Linked DNA regions of Homo sapiens: all the other regions are linked to region 1. Evidence: promoter capture Hi-C in 16 types of primary human blood cells and fetal thymus (Javierre and others, 2016). All regions are on one chromosome and are shown on one strand. Each heading gives the region's core, a stretch centred on a gene start or on the middle of the fragment in contact. The rest is flanking DNA. Distances are from core to core; before and after follow the strand shown.

Region 1 (3,057 bases), core at 153-2,652:
GGAGATAAGCAGAGAGAGTTGCTTTCCTGACTCCTGGCTCAGTGTTCTTTCTGCTACTTTAGCACATCCAGGGGCGGGACAAGGATGGAGAGAGAATTCCAGATCTGGCTCTGGGAAGACCTATGTCCAGGCACCAGACAGCTGCCTTCTACCTAAACCCCTGAAATTGGCATCTCCTCTCCAGATGTTAAAGGATCTATAATTCCCCTAGTGAAGGGGGAAAGTGATGGCACAAAATAGGAGCAGCTTCAATGGCCCCAGGCACTGTGGCAATTGCACAAAGGGAACTGGGGGTCAGGGATGGAGCTTGACCCGCTGCTGCCCTTGTGCCGGACGGTCCCACTGCTGGCTTGGGCTGCTGTCAGGATGGGCAAAGGGAGGGGAAGCCCATGTCTGAGATCTGCTGGCTGCAGAGCCAGGAGGAACAGCAGGAGTTGATCATGCTGCCTGTGGGGCTCAGCTCCACCTCACTCAGTGATCCCGTGAGGACCTCTTTTTTTCTACCTCTAGGAAGGGCAGGATGATGCGATGACACACATTTATGTCTCCCATGGCAGGAATCTGCTAGAGCAAAGCGAGGTGGAATTGCAAAGGATTTCAGAGGTTCTTGGAAGCCCAGAAAAAAGGAGCTGAACATGCCTTTGCCAGAAAGCCACAAGTGGGAAACCTCAAAGAATGGAAGAGGACTTGCTAGGTGCCATACTTTATGCGCACTATCTAATTCCAGGTCTGTTGGTGTTCAATAAATCCTTGATTAATTAAACTAAACTGAAAAATATGAAACAATTCCTATTTCATTCTAGAGGTTACAAAGCTATTTCACCTGTGTTTTCTCATTTGAACCCACATTGACCCTGAATGATAGGTGTTATTTCTATCTTTGTTTTACAGATTAAGAAACTGAGGATCAGAGAGGTTAGGTGGCTTGTCTAAGGCCACACAGTTAATCAACTATGAGGAGTTAGGAAATCCAGGCACAGACCAAGCTGAAAGAGTAGAATTACATATGCTGACCACAGAGGTCCCTTCCCACCTGCTGATATTTCTCAGAAAAGGATGGGGGGCTTCCACACACGTGCATCCCTACTCGTCCCACTGCGATATGCACGCTTACTCCCCAGCCACACACAGTCACACAGTCTGCCTCCTTGTCCTTGTCACCCCACTATCTAGGAGACTGGGAGTTGGGAATGGAGGGGGTTACCTGAGCCATCGTCCCGAGCCCTTTCCAGATAGCATCCCGTCTGGGGATCCCAGAGCAGTAACACTTACTTTTAGCCACTTCCTTCTCTCCCGTTGATCTGACTTCAGGGACACAGCCTGCTGGCCAGTTGGTAACCCCTGCCTCTCTAGGAGCTACTGGCAGGGCACTGGACGCTGCTGCCAAAACTGAAACTCTGCTCAGTGTTTGACCCACACCTGGGCTCTTAAAGGGCCACTCTCCCACAGGCACCGTGGCCAGCCAGGGTCATGTGACTCTCACAGATCCCTTGCTTTCCTTTCATTTTGGCCTTCCTGGCTGGCTCCATTTGGTTTCCTTTGACCTTGGGGAGACTCTGTTACTTGGGAATCCTCCATCGTTGCAGCTTCAGGATGAGGGACAGAATGTCAAGCGTGAAGATGCTGTTCTGTCGCTTTCTAGCTGCAAGACCTTTGGCAAGTCACCTTCCTATTTCTTTTCATCTGGAAAAGAGGGATGGTAATACCAAATCTACAGGTAGAGGATATAGCCCGGTATTAGCTCTAAAATACCTGGCCCAATGCTTGATTTGAAGTTGACATCATCTGATGGGGCACAGGTGGCAGGAGTGGCTGTCGTAGTCCTTGGTCTCATATCCCCAGTTGCTCTGGAATCCCCTCCGACTCCCTAGGTTACTTAGCCTGGACAAAAATGCCCCTTATACACCTCCTGCCAAGCCCCTTTTACCAGTCCCAGAGCTCCAGGAACTGGCAGGACTGTGGCCCTTCCTGTTTCACTCCCCAGAGTCATGAAAGACTCGCTGCTTCTGGGCTCCCCTGAACATGGCTGACCTCAGAGTCTTGTTAGGACCCGGGCTCGGCTCCATAGCAAGGACGGTGCTGACCTGCTGAGCTGAAGTAGCACCTCCTTCCCTATCTGTTAGTCCATGCCAAAACATGACCTGGTTGGGACTCCCAGGTGTTCCCCAAATGATCGTGGCAGTCCTGTGACAAAAGTGAAGCCCACTCCCCAACACACACGTGTATGGCCCCCCGACCCCTCACTGCAAACCCCCACAGAAATGCTGCCCATCCTACCTGTGCAGGGCTGACCCAGGCTCTCCCTACAGAGTCCTATAGGCCAAACACCAGAAGGGGAAGGAAAAATAGAGAAATAGAGCCCTGGAGAAACACAAGGCAGCCAGAGCCCTGGGTCTTATTTTAGCTAACCACTGGCTCACTTGTGGGTGTTAACACACAATCACAGATTTCAATGGCAAGCAAAAAAACCCCATAATTTCTTTATGTAGCTTAATTTCTCTCTTTTTTTGTGGTTTGCAAACTTAGATTTTCTTTTTTTATTTTGTTTTAGGTTCCAGGATTACATGTGCAGAACGTGCAGGTTTGTGACACAGGTAAACGTGTGCCATGATGGTTTCCTGCACCCGTCAACCCACCACCTAGGTATTAAGCCCCACATGCATTAGCTATTAGTTCTAATGCTCTCCCTCCCCCCACCCCCCCCAACAGGCCCGGATGTGTAATGTTCCCCTCCCTGTGTCCGTGTGTTCTCATTGTTCAGCTCCCATTTATGAGTGAGAACATGTGGTGTTTGGTTTTCTGTTCCTGTGTTAGTTTGATGAGGATGATGGCTTCCAGATGTAGCTTAATTTCAAACCCTAAACCCATAATCTGACTGATAAAAGAAAACAAGTTACCTAGTCACTTCTAGGCAAGCTCAGCCCAATTCAGTGATCTCTCAGTCACTTCACTCCAGATTTAAAATTTAGCCTCATTATGGAGTTCCCTTCCTTTTTGTCTCCCTTCTCTCCCCTGGGGTCCAGTCTGGAGAGAGCGGTCTTGGGTGAGGGGGTGGTC
Region 2 (3,057 bases), core at 412-2,911, 490 kb before region 1:
GCCACTCTTCCACTTGCAAATTAAAATGACTGGTTTTCTAGGAGAAATCCGGCTTAAGCAGCCTTATGGAAGTGACCTAGTTCATTTAACCGAGATGAGGTTGATATAGGGTAAGATGGGGGAAGGAGGGAAAAGGATGTCAAGGAACAAAGGAAACCTGAACTGGTCCCAGAGAGATCTCATCTGATAGGCTGTTGGTTGATTCTCACACTTTGAAGCAGTTGTCCCGTGGGCCCACCCAAGCCTGCCCCCTGTCCGTTTGCCCTGTCTCTGTCCCCAGCTCCCCTCCCTTGGATACGATGCTGTCAGTGTTTTTAGTCCTTCCCTTAATATTATTTTTTAAAGGTTGATATCCTGAGTGAGTCTGCACCCTCCCAGCCTCTTCCCGGCTCGTTCTGCAGGGAAATCCTCCCTCTGTTGATAGCATCGCAAACCTGGTGGCAATCTGTGCGTGGACAGGACCCTCCCAAATTTAGCATTATGACTTCACCACAGGATCAAGAGAAGATGAATTGTGGGGGAGAAGGGGCTTTCTTTGTCATCAGTAGCCAGAGGGGCCAGGAGAGCAGTGGAGAGACCTGGGACCGGCTTGGATGCTCTGAGCGGGGCTAGAGGCGCTACGACAGTGTGTGGCGGTGTCCTGCCACGACGCCGCCGTCTCCAGAGCCACCACACAGTTGACTGTCCTTACCCGGCAGTGCTCAGGACCTCAGCCGATAAACCACAACCTGGACTTGCCGCCTCCTTCTCCAGGAGGCCGCCCCAGCACGGCCTCCCCAGGAAGCAGCATGGGGTAGAAGGCAGATGCCTCGAATCCAGGTGTCCCCTAGCCACGCTTTCCTGAGGAGCTGAGGAGCCCGCAGAACTCAGCGGATTATTTATTTTTATTTAAACGACCCTTCAAAGGCCCTTAGGTTTCCTTGCCTCTGCTCACAGAACTAGTCCAGCCAGGTGTCGCTGCTGCCTCAGAGCTGTGTGGGGTCGCGTGTATGTCGGGGGGCCATCTTGCCGATTTAACGCTGCTTTTTGTGTTGTTGTTGTTTTCCCTCCTCCCTGCCTGCCTGCCCCTTCTCCCCCAGCGAGGACGGTGTCGTGGAGAGGTCCAGCCCCAAGTCTGAGATTGAGGTCATTTCTGAGCCACCTGAAGAAAAGGTGACAGCCAGAGCGGGGGCCAGCTGTCCCAGTGGGGGTCATGTAGCCGATATTTATCTTGCAAACATCAACAAGTAAGCTCTGCTTTTCATTTTCTGCTCCCCTGAATGACTTGCAACACCCAGCCTCACCCTCTGGCCTAACCCCCATCTCCATTCCTGTGCTGCACGTAGGGCTCCCAGCTCCCCCAGCCTAACAGTTTGCATGTGGTCATTGCTGCTGCAAGGCGGACAGGGCTGAGGATGCTGCTACAAGCCTCGGGGCAGGTCCAGGTCTCCAGCTAGCTGCCCTCGTGCTGTGGAAGGGTGCTTTACTGTGTGTTCCCGCAGTGTCTGTCCACCCAGACCTTTGTGGCAGTCTTACAGCTAAAACTTTGACCAAAGCTTTGGTCACTTTATGCAACCTGGTTTTGTACTGTTTCTCAGAGGTGCCTTCTTTTTTCCAATCCATACTCAAATAATAGTCTTTGATGTCTGTCTTCCTTGACCCGTGTTCGTGCAAAGATTCAGAGTCTGTGTGTGGCTTCTACTAGGCTGATGTTACACCAGGTGGGTTTATTGAGATATCATGTGTCTGTTCCTCCCCCTGTCCTGCATTCACTCCTGTGGAGGAAAGGAGGCCACGATGTCCCTAAGGAAAGCTTTGTCCTGAGCTCTTCATTCATTGGCTAACCCCTAGCTCCCTTTTCTTCTGCCCTTTCACACCAGGAGAAATAATTTTCCATTTTGTTCCTATTGCTTTGGCCTTTTGTATTATTCTACCCCCTTAGTCCCTTTGCAGATCCCCACTCCTGCTCAGCAGGCTCTTACCTCTGACCCCCAGCTTTCATTGTGGCTGTTAGCAACATCCTGGGGTTTAAACTCCACCCACGCCCGATCTGGCTGTCTAGAGGGATTCTACGCCTGCGTGCTGCCGCCTCCCCAAGAGGCATTCAGGTTATTGGAGAACTAATCTCATCTCAAGGGGCCAGACACCAAGTCCCAAAGCCTACAGACCTCTTTCCGCCAGGCCCTGAAACCTGGCCCCGTGCCAGCAGGATGACAAGCCCCAGGGCGCTCCTGATGAATATGGATTGGAGATGATGTACAGTTTTTATTCCCCTCTGGCTTTTGAGGAATGAAATGATTTGCACTTTGAAAACCTGTTAACCGTAGCCTCTGGACACTGAGACTGGAAGGAGAATAAAGGATGCTTGTTGTTTTTAAACTATACCAGGTTTCCCAGATCTCTTGGCTTTTTTCCACCCAGACGGTAGCAGGGGGAGTGGTTGGGGCACGTGGCTCTTTTCCATCTCTTTCACCCTCAAGTTAGTAAAGTCGTTTATTCAGATCACTTACTCAGTGTAGTTATAATTTAATTCAGACCAGTTAAAAAAAAATTGAGAAGTTTCTGTTTCCCTCCAGCACACTGCCCTGCTGGGAGGGCAAGCCAATATCAAGTAACTGTGGGCTAATCACATTTTTTTCCTTATTTACAATTCTGTGTTAAATTGTAACCCTACAATCAAAAGGTCGTGATCCTATAATTAACTCAGAAACCAAGGCGGGGTTGGTGGAGGAAGAGTTAGATAATTAGTTAAGTACATATTTTTAAGCCATCATATATTTGATGCCATTTGTGCATAGAAATTGTAGAGAGTAATAACTGAAATGGTAAACAGAAGAAGAAAAAAAAAGAGTATCTGTAGACAGTTAAGGTGGTTCCCTTGAACTCCTTGTTTGCTGGTGTCAGGAGTCTTGGGATGGGGTTCTTGGAGGACAAGCCTCATCACCTGGTGGGTGGGTGAGCGGTGGCCCCGGGGCATGTCTGGCCCTTAGAAGTGAGTCGGCCTTTGAGTCTTACCTCCTGCCCCCCACGCCACTCCTCCTCCCAAATTCCTTGAGTTTCCCGAGTGCCCAGGTTCTC
Region 3 (3,057 bases), core at 399-2,898, 470 kb after region 1:
GCAACAGAATGAGACCCTATCTCAAAAAAAAAAAAAAAAAAAAAATTCATACAATATATATTGCTTGTCTTTCAGAGTCACCCTTTCTTAAGTAATTAAAGAAAATATTTTATGTGATTTCCAGAAGCCCAGAGCCCTTTCTACTGGTTTTGAGTTTTCTGAATGAAAGAGAACATGCTTACCTTCTTCTGATTCCTCATTTTTTACCCACTGCTTTTGATTTTCTATAGATGTTCTATGCTGTCCAATACCAAGCCATAAGTTACATGTGGCTATTTAAATTTGAGCTAGTTAAGTCTAAATAAAATGGAAACTTCAGCTCCCAGTCACACTAGCCATATTTTAAATATTCAGTAGGCACATATGGCTAGTGGCTATTGTATTAGGTAGTACAGATCTAGAACACTTCATTGTTGTAGAAAGTTCTATTAAACAGTGTGTTCTAGCTGACCTCGACTCAATCTGACTCCTCCTATGCACCTGCTATCATTTCCTTTTATCATCTAGCTCCCATTCCTGTATTTCCCCAAACACCAAAAACACATTGCTGCTGGACATGTTTTTTAAAAAGCATTTTTAAAGGTTTAGCAATAGCAGAAGATTATTGCCAAAAGAAAGCAGAAAAACAAGTTAAAAACAAATAGTAGGTGTCAATGTTGCACAAATTTGCTAACCTGCACTGACCTAGTGTATACATCCAACCAACTAGTTAACCAGTTGGGCCTCAGTTCAGCAACTGATAGGTAAGATAATCATTATTTTTTATCCAACCATTACCTGACTTGGAATAACTATCATGCTCTTTTCTTCTAATTAAAAACATCATATAATATGTAGAATATAAAGGTAAAAATTCAGAGCAGCGAGGCAGGCGGATCACGAGGTCAGGAGTTTGAGACCAGCCTGGCCAATATGGTGAAACCCTGTCTCTACTAAAAACACAAAAATAGCCGGGCGTGGTGGTGGGCGCCTGTAATCCCAGCTACTCAGGAGGCTGAGGTGGGAGAACTGCTTGAACCTGGGAGGCGGAGTTTGTATTGAACCAGAGATCGCGCCATTGCACTCCAACCTGGGCGACCGAGTGAGACTCTGACTCAAAAAAAAAAAAAAAAAAAAATTCCGGAGCAGGTATTCTCATGCAATTAGGAGATGTTTATTGTCACTACAGAAACAACCTTTCACTGCTCCCTGGCCTACTACAACCTTGTTGATCTTTTTGCTGCCTCTCTTTCCTGATCATGTGCTCCAGCATTCTATCTTTCAGGCCATCAACGTAAAAACTAAAAACTCTTGTTATTCTGTCACACTGAATAATTTGGCTCCTGATTTTTTGAAACCTCTCCCTATCTAGACTGGCCTGTGGCCTTGCCTCCCAGAGCAAAAGAACTTCCTTCATCAAGCTTCCCTAAACAAAAGAGCAGTTTTTCCCCAAGAAGAATTTTGCTATTCTGTCATTCTTTTAAAATGCTGAAGTAGCCACTAGAAAATTTGGTTTTATAAATGACTTTTTCTTGTTTCATGCTGCTTTTTTTTTACTTCTCAATGTTTCATAAGTATTTTATTATTTTTGTAAAGGCATGTAATAATATTCCATAGATATACCCTACTTTACTTAACTATCTCTTATGGTTGGGTACGTTTGCAGTGAGCTATGATCGCACCATCACACTCCAGCATGGGCAACAGAGCAAATCCTATTGGCTTTACTGTTGAAACATGGTAGTAATGATCCACATGAAGATACCTAAATAACTTTGTTACAAACCCTACCTACTTAGCATACAGTGGGCAAAGCTGATTAATCTCATATTTAGAAGTTGTATGAACAAGCGCAACATTGCACCTCCTACAACTGTGAGTAAAATAAATGTCGTTCTCATCTTTGCATCTGCCTATAAAGCTTATTTTAATAGAAATGAAGATAACATAAAGACTATATGGTTTACTGACTGATTCTGAATCAGAGAACTTGGAGAAAGAAAATTATATGATCAAGACTTTAAATTCTCAATTCAAGCTTGAATAAAGAACAAGAAATTTTTTGAAGGCCCCCCCAAAATTATCTCACGTAGTCAACGAGTAAACATTTCTTAAAAGAAAAACAAAACAAAAAAAAGAACTAAAGTTATATCCTGTGGGTGACAGACTTACAATGAGAAATGTTTATTTTGAAGAGGCTTTAATGAACTTCCCAAAGAAGTTACCTTGGAGGGGAATGCTGATCCTCATCAAGACCCACCTCCAGCAGCTCTCATTGGTTCTAGATCTATAATTATTTTTAAGTTCTCTCAGCTCCCCAGGCTTGATTTTATGTGTGACCTGGGAGGAAGTATTATATACATGGAAAGAATTTCCAGATTTCTCTTATTTATGTCTGTAGAAATCCAGGGAATATAAATGGGAGTGGATCTTAAACATGTTAGACCAGAGTGAAAGAAATATGTCATATATATATTTTTACCAGGTGAGTGCTAGCATTAGTGCATTTTCAGCATGAGAGCACTAACAAAAGATTCTGGGTTTGATGCATTAGCTTAGACAACTGGGAGTGGCTCTAAAAATCTGCTCCACTGGTTGACTAAAACCTAAACTCAAAGGTGACCTATGCTGAATAGACTGGAGAATGTCAGAGCTTTCTAAGTATATTGTAGAGGAAGGTATCTAACCATAAAGGAAATTTCTGCTTCCAGCAAAGGTGGAAAAGAGGAACTGGGTTTATCCTCCCGCCTACATAACAAAAAAATAGATGACATATAGGAAACAATTATTTGAAAGACATTGGACATCAGATAATGAAGGACTGGGATCCCTGTGAGATGGGAAACAAATGATGTAAGACTTATGATTGCCCTACTTTACTGTCTTGAAAGAATCTCCAGACTGCTGCACAGGGAAGGGGAATGAAAGTGGAGGGCAGTGAACTACCTAAGTTGAGACAATACTGAGAGTATGGGGAGATCAAGGAAGCTAGGAAGGTAAAGTTCACAGGACAGAGACATAGAAGAGAACTGCAGAAAAAGAGAACTTTGGAGATCTGCAAAAGGTGCTCTTGAGTAT
Region 4 (3,057 bases), core at 160-2,659, 350 kb before region 1:
ACAGAGTAAGTTCTTTTTTTGAGACAGGGTCTCACCTTGTCACCCAGGCTGGGGTGCAGTGACATGAAAATGGCTCAATGCAGCCTCCACCTCCTGGGCCCAAGCAATCCTACCGCCTCCGCCTCCCAAAGTGCTGGGACTACAGGCATGCACCACTATGCCTGCCTGAAGTTCTTATTTTTAATTAATGTTCCTTTTTGTTCTTCCTTTCAAGCTCTCCCATGTCATATTGGCTCAAATTGTTCCAAAGACCCCCCAAATCAGAGTTCCTCAAGCCTGTGTTTATGTAGACTGACTTGGTATGAATTACAGAAAGAAAATCAAAGGCTAAGATAGTGACAGTATTAAAGTTCAATGTGATCAACATTAAGGCGAGGGGATAGAAAAGTTGGAGAGGGACTGCCAATGCTCGTTACCTGGTCAGAAGACTGTCCCATGGAAGCTTCATGACTGTATGCTGTTCATTTTTCTCTAAGATGCAGTCACATAGGATGGGATCCAATCTCACAAGACTAAAGGGAAAGAAGAGGCAATGAAGAAATCCTAGACTTGTCCCTTCTGACCTGAAGGCTAATTCAGGATTCATCTCTCGTACGGCCTTTATAGACATTCAGGATATGAATCAATTATGGGCCCACAGTCCAAAAGGCAATGTACCTTATGGGTGGGAGATACACGAATGCTTTCCTAGGAAAAGCAGGAGGTGGAAGGGAAAGTGAGATGGGATAAATTTGAAGATCAGGAGCCTTTGCTACTAACTAAGCATGTGACCACAGCTTTCTAAGCTTAGCATCAAAATTGGCTAGTGAGGAAGAAAGAAAGGAAGTGGGGATCTTTAAAATGAAGGTGTTGGCCAGGTGCAGTGGCTCACGCCTGTAATCCCAGCACTTTGGGAGGCTGAGGCGGGAGGATCACCTGAGGTCAAAAGTTCAAGACCAGCCTGGCCAACATGGTAAAACCCCATCTCTACTAAAAATAGGGCCGGGCGCAGTGGCCCACGCCTGTAATCCCAGCACTTTGGGACGCCGAGATGGGTGGATCACTTGAGGTCAGGAGTTCAAGACTAGCCTGGCCAACATGGTGAAACCCCGTCTCTACTAAAAATACAAAAATTAGCCGGGCATGGTGGCGCATCCCTGTAATTCCAGCTACTTGGGAGGCTGAGGCAGGAGAATCGCTTGAACCTGGGAGGCAGAGGTTGCAGTGAGCACAGATTGTACCATTGCACTCCAGCCTGGGCAACAAGAGCAAAACTCTGTCTCAAAAATAAAAATAAAACATAAAATAAAATGAAGGTATTAGATTAGGCTGGTATGTCTCAACTTTTTTATCATGATGATGTTTTTTTAAAGTGAAAAAAAAATTTTTTTTTGAGATGGGGTTTCACTGTATCACCCAGGTTGCAGTGCAGTGGCATCATCATTGCTCACTGCAGCCTCAACCTCTTGGGCTCAAGCGATCCTCCCACCTCAACCTCCCAAGTGGCTGAGACTACAGGCATGCCCTACCATGCCCGGCTAATTTTTGTATTTTTTGTAGCGACAGGGTTTCATCATGCTGCTCAGGTGGGTCTCAAACCCCTGGCCTCAAGCAATCCTCCCACCTCAACCTACAAAAATGTTGGGATTACAGACATAAGCCACAGTGTCCGGCCATTAAAGTAAAAAACAATTAATGGAACTCTCTTCATCTGGTAGTTTACCATCTGTATCTCCTTTTAAGAAAATAATACCATAATGGGTACAAATATACAGTTAGATAGAAGAAATAAGTTTAGTCTTTGAGAGCAGAGTAAGGTGACTGTAGTTAACAACAATGTATTGTGTATGTCAAAATAGCTAGAAAAGAGGACTTACAGTGTTCCCGACACATAGAAATGGTAAATACTCAAGGTGATGATACCCCAAATACCCTGCCTTGATCGTTATACACTCTGTGCATGTAACAAAATACCATGCACCCCATAAATATGTACAAATATCTATCAATAAAAATAAATACCTAAAGCTATGATGACTTCAGTAAATTCTTTGTAAGCTTGCATTTTATTCCTCACAATAGCCAATTAAAGATGATTCATGGGTATTTGTGAGAGAATATTTACTTAGTCGGTAGTCAATGTTGATCGTATACATGGATCTGAACACCCCAGACAATAACTGAGTGTCCACAGCCCATGGTTTGGAAACCACTGATCTTAATTACCTCTAAGATGCTATGGTTTTCTATTCTCCCTCCCAGACATCCTCCCCAAATGTGTCTATGTCTGATAAAGACAAAGACCCAATAAGACAGATCTGGTGCTTCTCATGCACTCACTTTTTGTTGTCTGCATCAACCAGGTCATTTTTCTTGGCGTAGTTAATGACGATCGTTCGGACCTCACTGCCCTCCAGAAAGCTCCCCTTCCTAGGTGAGGAGAAGTGACCCAGGGGTTAGTTCATGCTGTGCCATGAGACAAAAATGCAGATGCCCAGACTCACTCCCTGCTGAGCAGGGAACTTTCCTTAGCTTTCGGCCTCTAGTTTCTTCCCTTTTCCTGACTGAAGTGAGCATGACCATGTGAAGAATAATTACACGCAGAAAAGGGTGAGACCTACTCGTTCATTTAGTCCAGAGGAACTTGCCCAGGGAAGAAGGCTGGAAGCTGGATTTTGGAGAAGGGGAGAACAGGGGCAGAGCAGGTTTTGCCAGTCGCAAAAGAGCACTACTCAGGTTGAGAGGAACTGTAGGCCAGAACACCAAGCAGGCAGAGAAGGGCTGCTCTCCAAAAACTCACTTGTGGCCAGACTCCTGGAAGAGCAGGGTCATGCTGGCTGGGACACAGTAGAGGGGTTTTATATCTGGAGGGTGATAGGGCTGTTCCCTGCTACCCTCCTGGATAGTCTGGGAGGTCGGGGAGGGCTCGGGTATGACGAAAGATGTAATCCTAAAACCCAGCAGAAGGAAAGAAAAAACACATTTTATACTAGCATCTCAGCAATCCCCAGTCCGTGGCCCAGGTGCCCTGGGGCCAGCTGGGCTACAGTGACAGGCCCCCTGCACTCACCTCGGGTG
Region 5 (3,057 bases), core at 199-2,698, 330 kb before region 1:
ATGTTGGGAGAAAAGCTGAGTGTTGGGAGAGCAGCTGAGGCAGGGCTTCCATGTCTGCTAGACTTGCTGGCTCCTTGCTTCTAGCACACCCATTATTTCAAGCAGCCATTCACTTGATACACTGTTTCCTGTCAACCCCCACATCTTCACCACCTGTTTGTTTGTTTGAGCACCAATAAGCAGCCATGGACGCCCAGAAATCGGGGCCTTGGCAGCCTCCACACTCACGATGGTCCCCTGGTCCCACTTTCTCTCTCAAACTGTCTTTTTCTCATTCTTTTGACTCTGCTGGACTTCGTCGCCCCCACGACCTGGTGTTGGGTCTGATCACCCCAACAACATTCTGGAAAAGGCAAAACTATGGAGATAGTAAAGAGATCCGTGGGGGAGGGAAAGATGAACAGGTAGAGCACAGAGGATTTTAGGGCAGTGAAATGCTTCTGTATGACACTACAGTAGTGGGTACATGTCATTATACATTTGTCCAGACCCACAGAATGTACGACACCTAATGAACCATAATGTAAACTATGAACTTGCAGTGATAATGATATGTCAATATAGGCTCATTGATTATAATACGCAAATAAATAAGCCTTGATTCATAACTCACAGCCTATTCACATACAAACTCAAAACAGATTGTAGACCTGAATAGAAAACAAACCATAAAACTTCTAAAAGAAAACATACGAGAACACCTTTGTGACCTTGTGTTACACAAAGATTTTTTAGATATGACACAGTAAACATGACCCATTAAAATAAATAATAACAATTTGGACTTCATAAAAATGAATAAATTTTGCTCTTCAAAAGACAGGTTAAGATCTTGAAAATTCCAGCCAGGCACAGTGGCTCACGCCTGTAATCCCAGCACTTTGAGAGGCCAAGGCAGGCGGATCACTTGAGGTCAGTAGTTTGAGACCAGCCTGGCCCATACAGTCAAACCCTGTTTCTACTAAAAATACAAAAATTAGTTGGGTGTGGTAGCAAGTGCCTGTAATCCCAGCTACTTGGGAGGCTGAGGCACAAGAATCACCTGAACCCAGGAGACAGAGGTTACAGTGAGCCGAGATGGCACCACTGCACTGCAACCTGAGCGACAGAGCCAGACTCCATCTCAAAAAAAAAAAATCTGGAAAATTGCAAAATAAGTAAATTTTAAGTGTTCTCATCATAAAAAAGTATGTGAAGTAATACATATGTTAATCAGTTCAATTTAGCCATTTCACAATTTATATGTTTAAAAACAATATGTTGTAGATGATAAATGTACATTTAAAAAATACAAAAAAAATACAATTTTTATTTGTCAAATAAATAATATTTTGGCGATGCATGGTGGCTCATGCCTAAAATCCCAGCACTTTAGAAGGCTGAGGTAGGAAGATCACTTGAGCCTGGGAGTTTAAGACCAGCCCAGTCAACATAGCCAGACCTTGTCTCTACTAAAAATAATTTTTTTTAAATTAGTCAGTTGTGGCCGGTCGCGGTGGCTCACACCTGTAATCCCAGCACTTTGGGAGGCCGAGGCACGTGGATCGCCTGAGGTCAGCAGTTTGAGACCAGCCTGGCCAACATGGTGAAACCCTGTCTCTGCTAAAAATACAAAAACTAGCCAGGTGTAGTGGCGGGCGCCTGTAATCCCAGCTACTCGGGAGGCTGAGGCAGGAGAATTGCTTGAACCTGGGAGGTGGAGGTTGCAGTGAGCCGAGATAGCACCACTGCACTCCAGCCTGAGCAAAAGAGCGAGACTCCATCTCAAAAAAAAAAAAAAAAATTAGTCAATTGCATAGAAACAAGCGGATCCAGGAAAAAAAAAAAAACAATTAGTTGAGTGTGGTGATGTGTGCCTGTACAAGTCCTAGCTACATAGGAGGCAGAGGCAGGAGGCTTGCTTGAGCCTAGGAGTTTGAGGTTGCAGTAACTATGATTGCACCACTGTACTCCAGCCTGGGTGACAGAGCTAGACCCCATCTTTAAAAAAAAAAAAGTGTGTGTATATAAGTGTGTGTGTATATATATGACATATATGTGTGTGTGTATGTGTATATATATGACATATGTGTATATATGTATATATATGTATTTATATACACATATGTGTGTGTATATATATATATGACATGTTAAGAAAATGAAAAGATTAGCCATGGACTGGGTAAAAAGATTTATATCTGTAATATATAAAAACCTGTCAAAACTTAATAATAAGGAAACAACCCAATAAAAATTGGACAAAAGATTTGAACAGGAACTTCACCAAAGAAACTAGATGAATGACAATTAGGCACATGAAAAGATTATCAACATCATTAATCATTAGGAAAATGCAAATTAAACACAATGAAATATCATACACATTTATTAGAATGGTTGAAACAAAACCAAAGGCCAGGCATGGTGGCTCATGCCTATAATCTCAGCACTTTGAGAGGCTGAGATGGGCAGATCACTTGAGGTCAGGAGTTTGAGACCAGCCTGGCCAACATGGGAAACCCTGTCTCTACTAAAAATATATATATATTAAAAAAACAACAAAAAAAGCAGGGTGTGGTGGCGGGTGCCTGTAATCCCAGCTACTCGGGAGGCTGAGGCAGAAGAATCCCTTGAACCCAGGAGGCAGAGGTTGTAGTGAGCCAAGATCGTGCCATTGCACTCCAGCCTGGGTGACAGTGAGACTCCGTTTCAAAAAAAAAAAAAAAAATTGACAATGTTAAGTTGTGGCAAGGATGTGGAGCAACTGGAACTCTTAGGCATTGCTGGTGGGAATGCAAAATGATAAATAACTTTGGAAAACGGCCAGGTGCCATGGCTTGTACCTGTAATCCTAGCATTTTGGGAGGCCAAGGTGAGTGGATCGCTTGAACCCAGGAGTTCAAGACCAGCCTGGGCAAAATGGTGAAACCCTGTCTCTAAAAAACTAACAAAAAATTAGCCAAGGAAGGGGTAAGGGGGTGGCTGAGGTGGGAGGATCGCTTGAGCTCAGGAGGCAGAGGTTGAAGTGAGCCGAGATCCCACCACTGCACTCCAACCTGGGTGACAGAGTGAGAC
Region 6 (3,057 bases), core at 261-2,760, 310 kb before region 1:
ATAAGCCATGGCTTTAGTGTTCCAGTGAGCTAGATTTCAGTGTTTCTGAAAAAAATAGCAAGTATACATTTCAGGAACACGGGTCAATTTGAGGTTAACATAGCTTGAGGAAAAAAGTAAGTTTCACTGGTTCTCTCCAGTGATTTTTAAAAAATATTTTCCAATTCTGTGATGCACATGTCACAGTAGGCATTATGGCACATTTTGCTGTACAGAAATGTCAATGAAACTTGTCCAAACTTAACATAACCTACTAACAGCTATTTTATCACAAAATTCCAGGTAAATGTGGCCACGGGGATGTTTTCTTAATCTGTGCATTTGAAACTTTGATCACATTGTGAATGTCCCAGTGGGTTTTTAAGATCCTGGAATAGTTGCATCTTTTTTACTGTTGTTTATTTCCTTAGTCAATGTATTAGAACTTGCAGGTACCTTATTTTGCAGATGTCTTGGAATTGGCTTCAAAGGACAGACATGCATCTTATATGACTTTTGGCTAATTCATGGTGGGTAAATCTGACTTTAACTGCATGGAGAATGATAATGGTGATTTTAAACTACTCTTGAATGAGGCTTTGGAGGGGAAGAAAGGGCATGAATGATGTGGAAGCTGCTTGGGAGCTGGAGGGGACAGGGCAGCGCTCAGCAGGGGTGTGGAGGCTCCTGCCAGATCCCTTATGGGACGTTAACCCCATCATACAGGGGATCTTTGAAGAAACATTGGGTCACTAAGGTCAGAGATTTATGAAGCTCCAGCACCCTCGAGGAGTCCTCTTTCCCTTGACCATGGGAACAATAGGCGAAAGACAAAGGCGGCCTCTGTATTTCCCACCTTAGGAGCAAGAAAGGGAGCAGGAACCCTTCCACTTGGCTCTGGAAGATGTGTCTTAAGCACAGACTGCGGATGCAATCCTCTCACGAGCAGTGATTCAGAATGAGGTAAGAAATCATGTGGGGGCAAGTCTCATTCAACTGTTTAGGGAGGGCAGTAAAGTGGTCTGAGGTGTCTACATAAGTACTGAGAACGGGGATTATTTAATAGAATTTTGCAATCTTAGAGCTGGAAGGGACTTCAACAGTAACCTCGTCCAATCTTTGCGTTGCCATGGAACTCTTTCTTCAAACAAAAGCTTCGTAAGAGCCCAAATACAAACCCCTGTGAAAGCAGAATTGCTCTGGTTGCAAAGTGGGGGAAGGGAGAGACAAAAAGAAAAAGTTTATTTATAAAATAAACTTTAAAAAATCATCATGGAAGAAAACTTTTTTATTTATATGTATATCATAGAAAGGCTAAAGTAACATTGATCACAAAAAATAAAATTCCCCAAACCAATAGATTATTAGTTTATACAGTGAAGATACTTTGGCTCTTTAGGGACATTTTTACTTGGAGTCACGAGAACAGAGAATATGACTTTTAGTCACACGGAAATGAGCCTTGGATGGGAATTTTTAAGATTTATGGGAACTGTGTGCTATGCTGATTTGGGACAATAAGCGTTCTAGTCCCACCAGGTGGCGCCCGCGTTCGGCATTCTGAGAACGTTTGGTGTCTTCTGGACTCCAGAATCTGGACGGTCCGACCGCCTCGTGCTTGGTGGGTTTACAAACTCTGACTGGTTCTTACCACCCATCTAACAGGAAATTTTTTTTTTTTAAAAACAAACCAACCCATAAAACATCTGACCAGATGCCACACTCAAGAAAACACTTGTATTCGGGTGTTTTAACCTCCAACGATGGAAATCTGCTTAACATTGGTGTTTCTGAGGTGTCTTAGCATCAGAAAAGGAAAAAGACACATATACACACATTCTAAGGAAAAAGTCAGGAAGGGCCTTGCAGAGGTAGGTCCTGGTGCGGCAAGAGGACGGTTAGGCGTTAGAAGCTTCTAGTTCAGGCTTTGCCGCTTCATGCTCATGAGGAAGCGCGGCTCCTTTGGCCTCAGTTTCCTGCGCTGCCTTCCCGTCTGTGGCTGACTGTTGCAGGGTAGTCAGACAAAGGCCCAGCTTCTATTCTGCATCCCAGCTAAGTCTGTAAAAGACGAAAGTCGTCGGGTACCTCCGTTACTGAGATCAAATGTTCATAAATGGAAGCATCGTGTCAATAAATGGGTTTATTATTATTGCTTTCTTATGTAACTCACCAACCCCCGGAGGGCCGTCCCCGCGGTGGGAAAGCCTAAAACAATACACATATGTTTTCACTAATTTAAAATTCATATTGAAGCGGGACGTTTTAGAACTTCCAGGACGCAACGTGCTATTAAGGGACCGTGAGGGGCGGGCAGCCCTTCTGAGATCGCGGGCTAACTGCTACTTTCACCCCTCCTTCTCCGGACCCCTCTCTCCGTCTACAGCTCGCGCCAGGGACCCAAACAGCCTAGGCCGCGAGCTCCTCGCCTCCAACCTCCCGCCTCCCGCGCCAGTACTAGCACCCGCTAGGAGCGCCGCGTGGCCTTTACCGGCCACGGGCCCCGCCCCTGTGCGTCAGCCCGTAGCTGCGCCGAGGCGTTTCCCGGGGGCGTGCCGCGGTTGCTAGGCGACCAGACCGCTCCCCCTCCCGCCCCTGGAGCTGCGTCTCCCCACTTCCCAGCCGGGGCCAGTCGGGAGCGAAAGTGCGCTGAGCTGCAGTGTCTGGTCGAGAGTACCCGTGGGAGCGTCGCGCCGCGGAGGCAGCCGTCCCGGCGTAGGTGGCGTGGCCGACCGGACCCCCAACTGGCGCCTCTCCCCGCGCGGGGTCCCGAGCTAGGAGATGGGAGGCACAGCTCGTGGGCCTGGGCGGAAGGATGCGGGGCCGCCTGGGGCCGGGCTCCCGCCCCAGCAGCGGAGGTAACGGCGCCACGGGGTAACGGGCTGGAGGCGCCACAGGGAGCGGCTGGCGCTGGCAAGCGAAGCTTGGGGGTGGGGAGGAGGTAGAGTGAGCCCTCAGTAGGAGGGACGAGGGCAGGGGTCTGACTGCCTCCCCGGGACCGCCCCCACCTCCTCTCTATCAGGGCCCCCTCCCCCCATCCCTGTCTCACCGGGCGCGGGGGACGGGGCTAGAGCGGAGTTA
Region 7 (3,057 bases), core at 262-2,761, 300 kb before region 1:
CTGCATTTTCATAGAATCTCTTCCTTATAAAAGTAATCACTCTCGGATAAACCTTACTACAGTTTAAAAATGCTTCCCTCTTCTCTTTACAGCTACCTGCCACTTCAATGTGCCACATTTTTCCCCCCACTTTCACGTTAAGCTTAATGCTATTCCCTAGATCTGAGTGAACTTCAGTTAGAAGAAGAAAACTAAAAATCCAGAAACTGGTGATAATCAAGTTTTCCCTTTTTATGTTTCTTAATTTTATTCTCTTCAACAGCTTTTCTTTTTCTCTGCTAAGATTTAAACAGTGAGGGCTGATAATAAAACTAATTGTTAAGCCAGTGTCCTACTTACAAGGGTGGAGACGGGACAGAAGCTAACTCACTGCTACTGGGTTTTGTTTGTTGTTTCCTGTCCCTTGCTCTATTTCTGTCCTCTTCCAGAACAAAAGTATGCTCAAGTTCTATCCTAAATGTGTGCTCTTGGCTGGGTATTAGTGGCTCATGCCTGTAATCCCAGCACTTTGGGAGGCTGAGGTGGGTGGATTCCTTGAGCCCAGGAGTTCAAGACCAGCCTGGGCAACATGGTGAAACCCTGCCTCTACAAAAAATACAAAAATTAGCCAGGCCTAGTGGCACATGCCTGTAATCCCAGCTACTTGGGAGGCTGAGGTGGGAGGATCACTTGAGCTGAGATCATGCCACTGCACTCCAGCCTAGGCAACAGAGTGAGACTCTGTCTAAAAAACAAACCAAAAAAAGTGTGTTCTTTAAAGTAGAATATTTGCTTTTTACAATATAGTTCTCAGAATGATCCAGTTCCATTTATTATTCTAGAATGTGGTGCAAACTCAATGACATTGGAAGAGACTCTTTTTGTTGGGCAGTGTAGGAACAAGAAAAGAAAATAAAAATGCCATGAGTATATTATTTAAGGAACTTTTGTTTTATCCAAAAGTAGTCATGATTGCTGTAGCATAGGCTGTGAAAAATGAGAGAGTGCAAATCTCTCTCATTTAAATGTCCACAGTGGCTTTAGTCTCCCAAGTACAAGGGCCAGATGGCAGAGAACAGCTTAAACTGAGCCTTCAGCCTCATTAATAGGAGGAAGTCTTGGTACTTTTGGTGACTAAGAAACTGGATTATTTAAAACCTTAATTATCTCCTTTACTCCTGGTTTACAGAAGGCAATAAATATACAACTCCTTTAGATCCCTCTAACTCCTGCTGAATTTTCTTTCTTTTTTTCTAAGTCTGCATCCTATCTCTTGATTCCATTGCCTGAAGAAGCTGTGTGAAATTAGTCTGGTTATTGGTTTTCTTGTCTGATAGTGGCATCTTGATCTCTTCAGATGTCACACTAAATGCTGCTCATAACCCATCCTCCTCTTCTTTATTCATCACTGCCTTCTTCAAGGGAGGTCTTGAAACTGCCTCATCTACCTCATGATCTGCTAGTCGAGATAGTGACTCTTTGGAAGTTGGTAGTCCAATGTCTGCTTCCCCGCATTAACCACATTGCGTAGGTTTGGGAATTTTGCAGGTGCTAAATCATCATGGCCAGGAAGATGAAACACCTTGAGAAATGGGAACATCTCTTCACTGTGTTCTTGGATCAGCCTTCTTTCAACTACCAAGAAATGGATGATTTCTCTGCCAACTCCAGGAAGTAGTACAGCATGATTGAATCCTTCTTCAGTGAATCTTTTCATTGTAACTTAGGGTGTAAAAGCTCATATCTACTCAAAAAACTCAAATCTACTCTTTCAGTAGATATGAGCTTACATTGACTTATGAATGGTTTTCCTGTAGGCCCAACAGTGTCATGACCCTCCAGTTGAAACAAAGCATGAGTTATTTTTATATCGAGTCCTTGAACTGCTAGCCAGGTAGATGTTTCCTTGAAGTCCAGAGCAGGATCCAAGTCAGATGAAGGAGGTGGCACACCTGGCTTAACTGCAGATCAGGGAGCATTGAACCTCTACAATTTGCTGCATTGGATTTCTGCATGGGTTTCTCACTGAATAGTAAATTAGAGAAAATGCTACTTTTACTATTTTGCATTTTATATCAACATTAGCAGCCTGTTCCCACTCAGGTGCTGTCCAAGGCACATGTTTCCTTGGGATGTTTGGACAGAATGATCTGGCTTGATGTATTTCTTGGGCTCTGGTACCACATCATAGAGTTGGTTAAATGTAGCCAGCAGCAGTGTCAAGACAGCTGACACTGTCTTCCAAGAGTGAATGCATTGGCCTTTGGAACTGCTGCTAAAGCCATGTGTGGGGTGGCGAGCACATCTTTAGGTGGCAGCAAGGCTATATCTGATTGACACAGATCTGAAGTCTCTAACACCATATTGCTGTTGTCCTGAATTTTCTAACTTGGAGAAATTTAAGGATCTCCTGCATTATCTAGGCAGAGCATATGTTGAGGTTGTTTTGCCAGTTGTTATCAGTGTTGAAGAACTGCTCCTGTAAGCAAACTGTTAAAAGCATTACTACCCCATATGCATCTGATGTACACTGTGTTTTGGTGTTTGTGTTTTTAGTGAGAGTTCTAGCCAGTACTGTGCCTGAACTTGGGAGAGAAAGGGGCCTGTGGCTGAGGTTGGTGCGTGCTCTATTTCTGTGTATCGAATGGACTACAAGGTTACTGAAACTGGGCTAAGGGAAAGTGTATAGACAACTCATTACACTGTAGACAGATTTTAGAAAGCTACAGGAAGGCAAATGGATGTTTCTGCCTCAATTTGGCAACCGAGAGAGTGATGCAGAGCAGAGTCATTGAAGTTGGCATACCTGTCTTCTGCAGGCCAATTCAAGTTTGAGGAGAGTGGGCTGCTTAAAAACATGGTGCTCGTCCACATGGATTTGAGGAAGTTTATGGTTGGGTTTCAAGCTTAGGGACAAGTTGTGGTTTTTAGAGGCAGTAACTCTATGCCACCTTATTGGCCACTGTTAAAAGTTTCACTTGGATCCCTGCCCAGCCATAGCAATGAGTGACTGAATTGGATCAGAGTTAGTACAGAAATTCAGACTGTCTCTTCCTCAGTTACTGGATTGTTCTTTAG

What was found. The method cuts DNA at HindIII sites, captures the fragments that hold promoters and counts their contacts. A CHiCAGO score of 5 or more calls a contact.
Region 2: a fragment that was not itself captured here is called in contact with the fragment with the promoter of PIGR in region 1 in 4 of 17 cell types (activated CD4 T cells, non-activated CD4 T cells, naive CD4 T cells and 1 more); the score reaches 10.2 in activated CD4 T cells.
Region 3: a fragment that was not itself captured here is called in contact with the fragment with the promoter of PIGR in region 1 in 2 of 17 cell types (endothelial precursors and naive CD4 T cells); the score reaches 6.4 in endothelial precursors.
Region 4: a contact is called between a fragment that was not itself captured here and the fragment with the promoter of PIGR in region 1, in 1 of 17 cell types (non-activated CD4 T cells). The highest score is 6.0, in non-activated CD4 T cells.
Region 5: a contact is called between a fragment that was not itself captured here and the fragment with the promoter of PIGR in region 1, in 1 of 17 cell types (activated CD4 T cells). The highest score is 6.3, in activated CD4 T cells.
Region 6: a contact is called between a fragment that was not itself captured here and the fragment with the promoter of PIGR in region 1, in 12 of 17 cell types (non-activated CD4 T cells, total CD8 T cells, M2 macrophages and 9 more). The highest score is 9.7, in non-activated CD4 T cells.
Region 7: a fragment that was not itself captured here is called in contact with the fragment with the promoter of PIGR in region 1 in 9 of 17 cell types (non-activated CD4 T cells, naive B cells, activated CD4 T cells and 6 more); the score reaches 8.4 in non-activated CD4 T cells.

Annotation. Positions count from the first base shown.
Region 1 is chr1:206,945,064-206,948,120 of GRCh38, forward strand. PIGR (polymeric immunoglobulin receptor) reads right to left here and starts at 1,403. Exons shown (of 11, transcript NM_002644.4): 1 at 1,273-1,403. The HindIII fragment of the contact is 20,587 bases long and covers 1-3,057 here.
Region 2 is chr1:206,453,799-206,456,855 of GRCh38, forward strand. SRGAP2 (SLIT-ROBO Rho GTPase activating protein 2) reads left to right here. Exons shown (of 23, transcript NM_015326.5): 21 at 1,080-1,226. Among named protein-coding and RNA genes, the nearest start is that of IKBKE, 15 kb to the right of the region's middle. RefSeq lists an enhancer at 879-1,550. The HindIII fragment of the contact is 257 bases long and covers 1,534-1,790 here.
Region 3 is chr1:207,415,870-207,418,926 of GRCh38, forward strand. LOC105372880 (a long non-coding RNA gene) reads left to right here and starts at 476. Exons shown (of 3, transcript XR_922484.2): 1 at 476-743. It overlaps LOC124904498 (a long non-coding RNA gene), which reads right to left and starts at 365. Exons shown (of 2, transcript XR_007066848.1): 1 at 183-365. The HindIII fragment of the contact is 500 bases long and covers 1,399-1,898 here.
Region 4 is chr1:206,596,684-206,599,740 of GRCh38, forward strand. It overlaps EIF2D (eukaryotic translation initiation factor 2D), which reads right to left. Exons shown (of 15, transcript NM_006893.3): 9 at 3,050-3,057; 10 at 2,780-2,929; 11 at 2,320-2,409; 12 at 417-512. Among named protein-coding and RNA genes, the nearest start is that of EIF2D, 14 kb to the right of the region's middle. The HindIII fragment of the contact is 1,252 bases long and covers 784-2,035 here.
Region 5 is chr1:206,616,546-206,619,602 of GRCh38, forward strand. No RefSeq gene overlaps it. Among named protein-coding and RNA genes, the nearest start is that of EIF2D, 5.6 kb to the left of the region's middle. The HindIII fragment of the contact is 5,781 bases long and covers 1-3,057 here.
Region 6 is chr1:206,632,947-206,636,003 of GRCh38, forward strand. It overlaps DYRK3 (dual specificity tyrosine phosphorylation regulated kinase 3), which reads left to right and starts at 2,590. Exons shown (of 3, transcript NM_003582.4): 1 at 2,590-2,834. The coding sequence starts at 2,758. It overlaps DYRK3-AS1 (DYRK3 antisense RNA 1), which reads right to left and starts at 2,722. Exons shown (of 2, transcript NR_183645.1): 1 at 2,654-2,722; 2 at 1,250-2,037. RefSeq lists silencers at 2,450-2,869, 2,920-3,029. The HindIII fragment of the contact is 758 bases long and covers 1,132-1,889 here.
Region 7 is chr1:206,649,815-206,652,871 of GRCh38, forward strand. DYRK3 (dual specificity tyrosine phosphorylation regulated kinase 3) reads left to right here. Exons shown (of 3, transcript NM_003582.4): 3 at 1-3,057. Among named protein-coding and RNA genes, the nearest start is that of DYRK3-AS1, 16 kb to the left of the region's middle. The HindIII fragment of the contact is 2,743 bases long and covers 141-2,883 here.